2 separate regions of the Homo sapiens genome follow, and region 2 is linked to region 1. The links are contacts of gene promoters, found by promoter capture Hi-C in blood cells and fetal thymus (Javierre and others, 2016). All regions are on one chromosome and are shown on one strand. The core of a region is centred on a gene start or on the middle of the fragment in contact, and the rest is flanking DNA. Distances in the headings are between cores, read along the strand shown. Region 1 holds the start of ICA1 (islet cell autoantigen 1). Region 2 overlaps UMAD1 (UBAP1-MVB12-associated (UMA) domain containing 1).

Region 1 (5,308 bases), core at 2,472-4,971:
TCACTAGGTTTACACTGGGACAAGGAGTTACCACTAATTGAGGAACTGCCACTTCTCAGACACTGGGGTGTATGCTTCACCCACATCACGGAGTATCCTCGCAATACGGCCAAGTTGACATAATGATTTATATTCATTTCACGAAGAAGTTTAAGTTCAGTTATCTTAAGCAACTGGCCTACAGTCACATAGTAGGCAGGCTTTGTTATAAAAACAGGTATAAAATGCCCTATCACATGTAGTCTTCCCTGTCCTGGAGAGATTCATTAGTTATTTGTGAAAATTACTTACAGGTCAAAAAACAAAAACTATGTTAATTTGATGCTATAATACTAAATAGTAAATTGCTAGAATAGTGAAAGTGTGGTCAGCCAGGATTTTTAGAGGCTCCAAGGCAGTTCTACCATATGCATCTATCCAGGGCAAATCATGCCTGCAGTCCTTATCAGACAGATGGAGATTATAATATCTACTTATCTCAAAGGGGGTTGAGTATCACATAAGATCATAGTTGCCAAAGTGCTTTGTGAAGGAAGAGGACAGAGGCTCATTTTAGAGTAGTGTGCTGGACAGTCTGTGGGAGACCCTAGGGATCAGAGCTACCTGAGATGTTGCTTAACAGCAGATGAAGGAAGCTTGACCGGGAATCCACACTTATTTTAACAAGCCCCCAAATGATTCTCTGGGACACTAAAGTTTGAGAAATAACAGGTTACAGCATTGCTTCTCAAATGTTAACATACTCATGGAGATCTTGTTAAAATGGAGATTTGAATTCACTGGGTCTGGAAGAGAGTAGCAGGCACGCTAAGATTTTGCATTTCTAATAAGCTCCCAGGGGAGGCCACATGCTACTGGTCCATGGACCACGTTTGAGTGACAGGGGCTTGGAAGATCTATCCCCACTGGAACAAATTAGATTTGTTTTGTTTCTGGTTGCACCCCCCAACTTCAGAGAGTGTTTTCCATAAAGCCCAGGGTCTTAGTATTGGTACAAAATTATTTGAACTACTCAAAACCAAATTGAAATACACTTCCTATCACAGGCAAAGCAGCAGCATTCTTTTTAGATACGGATAGCATATGTTTAGCATGTGAAAAAATAATTTATTACTACTGAGTGAGTCCTATTTAAAAGCGTGCAAAGCATTTTATATACATTATCTCTAATCTCCACCCTGCCCCTAAAAAGGTGGATATTCCTGTTCTGTAGATAAGGAAATGGTGACTTAAGTAACTTGGTCAAGGTCACACGGCTAGTTAGGTGTTACCGCAGGGATTCTGATTTTGCTCCATCAGGATCCAAAGCCCATGAGTCCTCCATACTCCCTCAGAGTGTTAGATATGATTGTGATACGAAATGTATCAGCTTGGGAATCAAGAAAAAAGCGGGGGAAAAGTGTTTTTTGAGTTTAAAGTTCTGCTGAGGCAGATTGCGAATGGTGGTGGGGTTGGGGGATAAGATTCATTAGTGATCTATGTTGCCTCATGGACAAAACATGCAGATAGCATCCTTATTAATGGTTCCCATAAATCTAGTAATGCAGATGGAAAAAAAGGACACTAGTGACCAGCGTGCTGATTATAAACACTGCCACCTACCCTCAGGCTCAACCAACGAAGAGGAAAAATTCATCCTGACACTTGGGGCCTGTTAACTTCCTCCCTCTCTCGCATGAGGTTTCTATAATCTTAAAAGTTCATACCAAACATAGGTTTATCCTTCTACGTTATGGCATAACTACCAGACCTCCATACCGCTAATGCTGCTTGCACCTGAAAAAAATGTACTATTTAGTCAAATACCTTGAAAACGTACTGATTTTGAAGGCTCTGAGTAACAAAATTTTCTATACTTTTCGTGAGATTGATCTTTATGCACTGCGGTAAAGATGCGTAGAGAAAGCAGTCAGATAGTTACTCAGGTGTTCCAAATGGGGGAAAATAGTTACAAAATAAACCACCCAGGCAATTACCATCCAGTATCTTTAGCACTCAATGATCCACGGGTGGAGGATACAGGGTTAACGTTTTTTAACATCAGGTCTCTCCACAAATAGCCCGCTGTAGCTTAACTGTTACGTTTTCTAAAGATTCATCTTTATAAACAGTACAATTATTTCCCTTTGTAATACAAACAGAAACAATTAGAAAGCAACATCTCCTGCAATTAAGATGTATGTACAGTATTAGTATAAAACCAAAGAGTGATATTTGAGCTATTCAGGATTATAAATTGATTTTGTCCCTGTGGTATTCTCTACAAAGGGTGTTTCAAAAATAAAGACTGAAATCTAAAAATATATCTTTGGTTTGAAAACTTACTTAAAAGCATTTTTAGAGAGTGTGTGTTTTAAACAGGGGGTATGAAATTGCATCGGGAGCCTAGATTTCAAACTAAGCATTTCTTATTTCACTCCCTAACCACAGAACAGTTCAGATCTCAGATTCAAACCAGAGGGCCACAGAAACCAATTTGAGATTTTCCGAAGAGACTTCACTGAAACGTATGGACAAAAACATGTTTGCGATGAGTCATATTTTATAGGACCTTAATGGCCAATAAATGCCTTATGTGTCTTTCTTCCTACATTCAGTATCACTCCCAAGCAAGCTGGTGACATATTTTCCAGGCCTTGATAATTTTTATACCGTTACCAGATCTCGGTTACTAAGATTCATGAACAAAACCCTTTCTTGCGCTAATTTTTTAATGCCATCTAAATGAAGAGAACGCGATTCTTTCCAAACTAACTCTCCCCAACCAGGCAGTTAATGCCCTTCGCCAGAATAAGGGCGCGATACTTTTAAGACCCCAAAGAGAAGCTCAGGTGCTTTGGGGGTACTACAAGTAAAAAGACAGTGGGAAAGGTTCCTGGAGAGCCGCTTTGGGGGAAAGGCAGACATAACAACAGGATATGTTCGTTTCTAGAGGAAGCAGGAGCTGCAATAGCCCCGGAGCAGGAAAGGCGGAGTCAGCAGCGCCCAAAGGAAACGGGCGCGCCAGGGTTTGCTGGAACCGGGGTTGCTTAGGGGTTCTCGCCCCGTCTAGTCCGAGACTGCTGAGCACCTCGCCCCCGGGGGACCAAGCTCAGGCCTCCTGGCACTAGTGGTTATAAAGAGGTACCCATATGCTCTCTGCCGCCCCTGCCAAAAAAAGGGCCACGGAGGGGAAGAGAAAAAGCACACACCAGGCGCCGCGGCAGGTGAACTTGTCAACAAGTCAACCCTGGACGCAAGTCCCTGCCCACCAGGGAGCTCGGGGTCCTGGGGCCGGAGCCGCCGGGAAGGCGAGGCGCGCGGTGGGTGGGTGGGGTGGGCTGGCATGGGTGCCGGTGCTCCCAGCGCTGGGGCCGGAGCGCGGAACGCTTCCCTACCGCTCCCCCGGGGCTGACGCACGCTCTCACGGCGCGCGCATCCTCCAGACCTTCCCAGGCCGGAGGGAGGAGGGGAGGGGAAGGGGCTGATGCGGTTCCCGCACCGGGATCCGGGACCCGAGGAGGCGACTCGCCTATCACGCGCCGCCCGCGGAGGGCAGAGAAGGCAGCTCCTACCAGGCGTCCCCGACCGTCCCGGCTGCCGGGCGTCTCCTGCTGCTTCCTGCAGCCCGCCCGGCGCGCCCCCGCCCCGACCCCGGAGGGCAGGTACCTCGGAGCCCCGGCCCCCAGGAGCCTCCCGGCCGCGGTCGGAGCGTCCCTCCGGATCACTCATCCGACGTCAGCGTCAGCCGAAGGCGAGGGAAAGGGGCGGGGGGAGCGCAGGAACCGGCCCTTCCTGCGGCGGCCGCCACCAGCCGGAATAGCAACCGGCGGAGCCCGTGCGCACCGCAGCGCAGCGCAGCGGCCGGGGGGTGCGGGCGCCCTCGCCGCCCGGCTACCTACCGCCGCCTGGGCGCCGCCGCTGCCTCCCTTCCCCGCTTCTACCCTCCAGCAGACGCCCGCCGGAGCGACCCCTCCCAGGGTGACCGGGGGAAGGTGGGTGGCGTTGACCTCACCTTGCTTGGGGAGGGTCGGGGACTCGGGGAGTGAGTTTCTCTCTCTCTACTCCCCGGGGTCTCTCCTCGACCCCCATCTCCTGGGGTATCCCCCGCTCGGATCCGCCGCCCAGAGTGACCCCGCCCCTGCTCTCCGGCAGGTGTTCCACGTGGCCATAGCGTTTGCGTCACAATGACCTGGCGGACAGGTGGGAGCCACAGCGTACACCCCAGGGTTCCCTCTGTGCTGTGCGTAGTGCCTACTGCTTGCTTCCAGGTTAAATTTCTGTAGCTTTAGAGGACAGGAGACTTCATGACTTCACTGCCAAGAAAAGTTACAGAGGCCTGCTGTACCTGGAAATCAAGTTTGAGCTTCGAGAATAAAGGTCATGTTTTAAAAACAGCTGTGTATGTATAGGTATATGTTTTTCATTTCCATATATTTCTGTATCTTTTATTTTTAAGTTATTGCCATTTGTAGCAGTTTCATCTTCTCTTATCCTTTGTCACCAGGAAAGAACCAAACCATTGTTTCTAGAGACCCTGCAGTATACAGATCACAGGAAGAAAAAGTGTTGGCATAGCTGCTTCCTAATATTATCTATGTGGAAATGAAACCTCAATGTAGTATGACTTCATCCCTAGTTATGTTATACATTTATAAATAAGTTCATTCAGTCGTCGCTGAAACAATTTAAAAGGGCCGAATGATAGTTATTGAGTAATGATGCTGACGAATCAGAAATCCTGCGCTAACATGGATGGAGTGCTAGCTCTATGTCCGGCACATGCTGTATGCTTTATATTTAATCCTTACAGCAACCCAATACTGTAGATAAAATCATTATCCCGATTTCACAGATGAAGACACTGCCCAGAGTGCCATAAAGAGATTATTGAGCAGGGATTTGAATCTGAACCAGGAGACTTAGCTTAATCTCAAGATAGCATGGTGTCTTGCCAGAATGGATGGAGAAAAAGTATAGAATATGTTGACATTTTAATAGAAAGATAATAAGATACCTCCAGAAATTTACATAACCTTTAAAGTTATTCTTTGGGGATTCTGTTTGTCATAGATTTGAGCCTGTCCTAGTCTTAACACGAATTTTGGAGCTGAGTAAACATCTCCTTAGTAAGTGTGTATGAGTAAACAAATCATGAATATGGTCTACAAAATAGCAAATTGTTGAAAAGCTAAGATTCAGGAGAAATTTTCAGAGAGAAAAGCATTGCTTATATATATTTGGCTTTTATAAAAAAAAATTCAAACTAACGTGTTAACAACGCAAGCCAAATGATTTTGCTGTAAGAAAAAAAACCCAAAGCCTTTAA
Region 2 (5,451 bases), core at 997-3,496, 500 kb before region 1:
TATGTTGACCAGGCTGGTCTTGAACTCCTGGGCTCAAGCAGTCGTTCTGCCAAGCCTCCCAGTGTGCTATGGTTACGGGCATGAGCCACCGCGTTTGGCCTTGGCTGGATTTTTGGTTTGTTTTTCTTACCTTATTTTGAGAACTAGAGTCGTCTTTGCTTTCCCTTTTTCTCACGTAGCCTATCCCAGTGGTCTTGAATCATTCCCTATGTAGACTGCCTAATCTTTATTTCCCTCTGTTTATGCTGAATTTTTATAGCGAAGATCTTAAGAAAGTGTAAAAGCTGTTTTTACCCATCTTTTTATCTTTAAATTTTTTTATATAATAATTAAGCTTTATAAAAGTTATAAAGTATAATACAACCAACATCCACATACCTACCATCCAGCTTTAGAAAGAAAACATAGTGGGTGGATACTGTGGAAGCTGCCTCTGCACCTTCAGCCTCCATTGAAGAAGCCATTCATTCCCATGCCATTTTCTTATACTTTTACCATATATGGTGTGTAGTTCCAACCTATTTAAAGTACCGTTTTACTTATTTAAACATTTTATATAAGTCTTGTCATTTTCTTTGTATTCTGCAATTTACCTTCTTATTCAATGTTGCATTTTTCAGATTTATACATGTTGATGTTTGTAGCTCTAGTTCATTAATTTTGACTCCTGCGTAATGTTTCTTTGTATGAAGGTACCACAGTTTATCCTTTCTCCGAGTGGTGGGCATTTGTGGACACTCTCTCTCTCCCCACCCTGTTAGAGACAATACTGCCACACAAGTTTTTGTACATATCTTGCTTCACGGATCTTTGTAGCTTTGGTTTTGTTGTGTTTGTTTTTATACAGAAAATGAGTTCTTTGGGGACTAGTCAAATTCTGTGGGCCTCAGATTTTTCATCATAAGATTGAACTAGATCTTTTCTAGCTCAAAATTGCACTTCTTACATGGTTATTTAAACTGGATAGCTTGAATTACTGGCTTTTGTTGTTTGTGTTACCTCACAGGCCCATTAGTATATCTCTTCAGTAGATTATGCCGGATATGGATTTTACTCTGACATGAGAAACTTCCATTTGCAACATTTTTGAGGACAAAAGTGTATGTAGTGTTAGAAACTATCATTAAGCAGGACACAGGACACTAAACCTTCCTTCTCCCCAAGTTTGTTTATCTTTCCTGGACTCTACAGGAATTACAACTGCTATTAATTTAGAATAAACATATAAATAATATATTTTAAAGTATGTTGTCTACATGTGCTGGGTCACCTTCATCCGGCATCAGCCTGGACAGAGGACTCAGGCCCTCTACTTGATTCCATAAGAGTCCGGTTACATCGAGCATTTTGCGCCCTCTTTAAACTTGACTGAGAATTTACAAGGCCACGGGGCTTACAGCATTCTATTTTTCTTTTTGCCTTTCTCTCTTTTTTGCTTCGTACATAAATGAAAATCTAATGTAAAATTGTAAATGGGAAAAGTACTATCATGAAGAAAAAAGTACCAGGGAACCTGAAACGAGATTAAAACTGACTGAAAGGATCTAGGAAGGAGTCTTGGAGGAAGGGAAATTTAAGCTGGTCCTTTAGGGATGAAGACCTTAAAGGTGTATGACAATTAGACATGCTTGTAGGGAAGAAGGAGGAATGGAGATGCTTTCCAGGCAGAGGAAAGATATACGAGGGGAAAAAGTATAAGACCATGACATATTCAGGGAACAGTAAGAGAAGTGGCTCAGACTTTCTGGGAGACAGTCTGCCATATTATCCCCCTTCTTCCCTAACTTAGGCAGTGTTAAAACATGGCTGCATATTCTTTGACACTCTCCCATTGAAAAGTTGTGTCGACGCCCCCTCCTCTTGAATCTAGACGAGCTGATGACTGCCTCAGTCAATAGAATATGGCCAAAGAGACCCTGGCTTACAAGGGTCAGTTGCAAAAGGCCATGTGACTTCTGCTTTGTTTTCTGGAACACTTGCTCTTGGAGCCCGGAGCCACCATTTAAGAAGTCCAACCAGCTTGAGGCCATCATGCTGTAGAGGCATGTGTATAGATGATCTGGTTGACGTTCCCAGCTGAACCCAACTTTCTAGCCATTCTACCAAATGTGAGTGAAGTTGTCCTTCAACTGTTTTCTGACTACCAGTACCCTAGAGCAACCTCTAACATCACTACACAGAACAGAAGAAATGCTCAAGCTCTGCCCGAATTTTTGACTCACAGAGCTGTGAGATATAATACAAATAACCATCCTGGCTAACACGGTGAAACCCTGTCTCTACTAAAAATACAAAAAAATACAAAATAATAATAATAATAATAATAATAATAATAATAATAATAATTGTCTTGAGTTATAAGTAGTTTATTATACACCAATAGATAACTGGAATACCAACCAAAGCCAAAGTGAGGGGATTTTTCTTTAGATGCTTGCTGAAGACAATATTAAGTCATCCAAAAACCTCTCCCCAGAATATACTACTGAATGTAATTTAGCACTTATGGCAGGAAGACTGAGTTTGGATAGCATTCAAGGCAGAGGAAATGACATGAACAAAGATAGCAAGGCAGGGAAGGACAGGACATATGTAAGGTAGAGAGTAATTAGGTTCAGCTAGGAGTAGGGCACCTCCTGGGCACAGTGAAAGAATAGACTAAAAGAGAAGGTTAAGGACATGCTATGAAGGGCCTTGAATGTGAGATTGAAGAAAATAACAGTACCACTGAAGATTTTTTGAAAAGTTTTACTAGCAAAACAGCACTTTTGGGAATTTTTTCAAATGCTTGTGGGATGGACTGAAGTATGGAGAAATTAGGGGATCATTTTGGAAGCTATTGCAAGATACTATGTGAATCAGATCTGTGGTAGCTGCAGCCAGAATGAAGGCTGGAAAATAGATAGGAAATACTGTGGGCAGGACCACCACTGACCTGCTTAGTGCATTTTGTGAATTATGAAAAGGTCACCCCAGCTGGGCACGGTGGCTGACGCCTGTAATCCTAGTACTTTGGGAGGCCAAGGTGGGCAGATTGCTTGAGCCCAGGAATTCAAGTTCAGCTCAGACAACACGGTAAAACCCTGTCTCTACAAAATATACAAAAAATTAGCCAATATGGTGGTATGTGCCTGTGGTCCCAGCTACTCGGGAGGCTGATTTAGGAGACTCACCAGAGTCCAGGAGGTCAAGGATACAGTGAGCTGTGATCGTGTCACTGTACTCCATCCTGGGTGATAAAAGTGAGACCTAACTAAAAAAAAAAAAGTACCACTTCTTTAAGACATTTTACTTCCATCTGTTAGAAAATTGTTGTAATATGTTTATTAGAATAAGACACTTGACTGCCATCTGCTGGAAAATTATTAAAGATATGTCTTTGGTTTCAATGCTCCTCTCCTTTTCACATCCTTGTGCAGTACACAAATTTTGTGGGTGCGAGTAATAGGACTTGGTAACGGATCACATTTCTTATTAAAAGGAAAAGGAAGAAATCTCAAGTTTGGATGGTAGGGAGGTTAGTAGTGACATTAATAGAACTAGAACTTATTATTGGGGAATAGATTTATAAGGCAGAATCATTCTTTACATGGAAAGACACTCATCTTATTATTTATTGATCCCAATTGTTTGCATTTACTTAGTAAGAATTTTGATACCTTTTCTTCTAGAATCTCAGCTCTCCCCCCTTGTGACATCTGAGAATGTTGACCAGTTCCTCTTTTGTATTCCATACACCCCTCTCTTCTGTATCTTTTCTTTCTATTCTGAACGTTGCTTCTTATCCGTCTCCTTTGCAGGCCCTTTTCCCTCAGTTTCCATTCTTGTGCTTTTTTATACAGTGGGCGCTCAATAAATGTTTGTTTAATTGAATTGCATTGCTTTTGAAAGATCAGTTGCAGGTTTTTCAGGAGACTGATTCATAGGCAGTTAGGGACTAAGGGCGTGCCAGAATTCAGAAAGTAGAAACCTATCCTAAATACAGTTCCTTGTTTCGGGATGTATTTTTTACACAGTAGGTCACTCTTCCTTGGGGAATATCTGTACTGTTGATCCGTTCATCATTGTTCAGCAGTGGCAACACCAGGAGAACAAATTATTTACATTGGCTGTGTCATATGGGTGTGTCTAATTCGGAGAACTTTCAAACAAAATAATGAAGCTTCCCCAGCTTCTAACTTGGGAAGTATGAAAAGTTACTTAAAAAAAAATCTTGACTCTTGTTTAAGTACATCAGTGACTGATTAAGTCACAACACATTTTAATATTTTCATTCGAGGTTTCTTGCTAACATTCTTACCACCACTACCACTAACCCCACCCCATGTGTGTAAGTTACTTTTCCTTTCATTTTTCGTGGGTCTTGTGTGTTAAGGCAAAGTCAAGAACTTTGCTCTTCTGATAACTTAACATTGATTGTGTGACTGCTTTGTGCAAATTGCTATGGGATGCCTCATGGAAATTACAAAGGTTTCGTTTGCTTCTGCCCTTCAAGAGAGACTTGCTTAGTGGGAGAAGTAGATGCATATGCAACTGCTCCAGGGCAGGCGATGACAAGGATCATAATATAGTGCAGACAGAGACAGGATTCCCTGTCTTAGAGTGATATAAACATCACTCGAAGACTGAGTCACATATATGGACTTGCCATATTTCTTTCCTAAATTGCACACTTAACTCTTCACTTTCCTGGGCTGGATTAGAATTTGTTTTCGTCGAAGGCTTCATGAGTTGAAAGCACATTACATATATGTAAGATTTAATGGATTTAATTTAAAATGCATTGAATAACATTAATTTTAGCAGGTTTGATTGTTTTAAATGCTTTTAAGCCGGCACTCTTAAACGAAAATAGAGAATATCAGAGTGATATTAAATAAACAATGATATAAAACAGGAGTTTTATGTTTATGGAAACCTAGTATTTAGGAAATAAATATCCTGAAATTCTCTAGCCAAATTATATTTTTAAATGTTTTGAGCATAGGATACAAGTTATAAACAGCCTAGTAGGGAAAAATGTATATTACTGTCATAAACATAGGTAGTATTTAAAATATTAAATATGGATAATTGATATTTAATTGAAGTGCTTTTTATTTAATTAAAGCCAATGACATTTTAAAATTATTTCTTTATTAATTTTTCTTCAATTAAATTTTAGCCTGTATTTTAGATACAAGGGGTGCATGCGCAAGTTTGTTATATGGGACTATTGCATAATGCTAAGGTTTGGGGTATGGATCCCATCACCTGGGTAGTGACCCTAGTACTCAATAAGTGGTTCTTCAGCCCACATTCTCCTCCCTCCTCCACCCCCAGTAGACCACAGTGTCTGTCATTCCTGTGTTTATGTCCATGTGTGCTCAATGTTTAGCTCTCATTTATAAATGAGAACATGCAAAGCCAATGACATTTTTCCAGTCATTGGAGTAACAAAGACGTTTGAAT

What was found. The method cuts DNA at HindIII sites, captures the fragments that hold promoters and counts their contacts. A CHiCAGO score of 5 or more calls a contact.
Region 2: a contact is called between a fragment that was not itself captured here and the fragment with the promoter of ICA1 in region 1, in 1 of 17 cell types (M1 macrophages). The highest score is 7.0, in M1 macrophages.

What each region holds. Positions count from the first base shown.
Region 1 is chr7:8,258,446-8,263,753 of GRCh38, forward strand. It overlaps ICA1 (islet cell autoantigen 1), which reads right to left and starts at 3,722. Exons shown (of 14, transcript NM_001136020.3): 1 at 3,649-3,722. It overlaps ICA1-AS1 (ICA1 antisense RNA 1), which reads left to right and starts at 3,780. Exons shown (of 6, transcript NR_125740.1): 1 at 3,780-3,974; 2 at 4,135-4,381. The HindIII fragment of the contact is 9,065 bases long and covers 634-5,308 here.
Region 2 is chr7:7,758,109-7,763,559 of GRCh38, forward strand. The region is part of intron 2 of UMAD1 (UBAP1-MVB12-associated (UMA) domain containing 1); the gene reads left to right. Among named protein-coding and RNA genes, the nearest start is that of RPA3, 42 kb to the left of the region's middle. The HindIII fragment of the contact is 3,828 bases long and covers 333-4,160 here.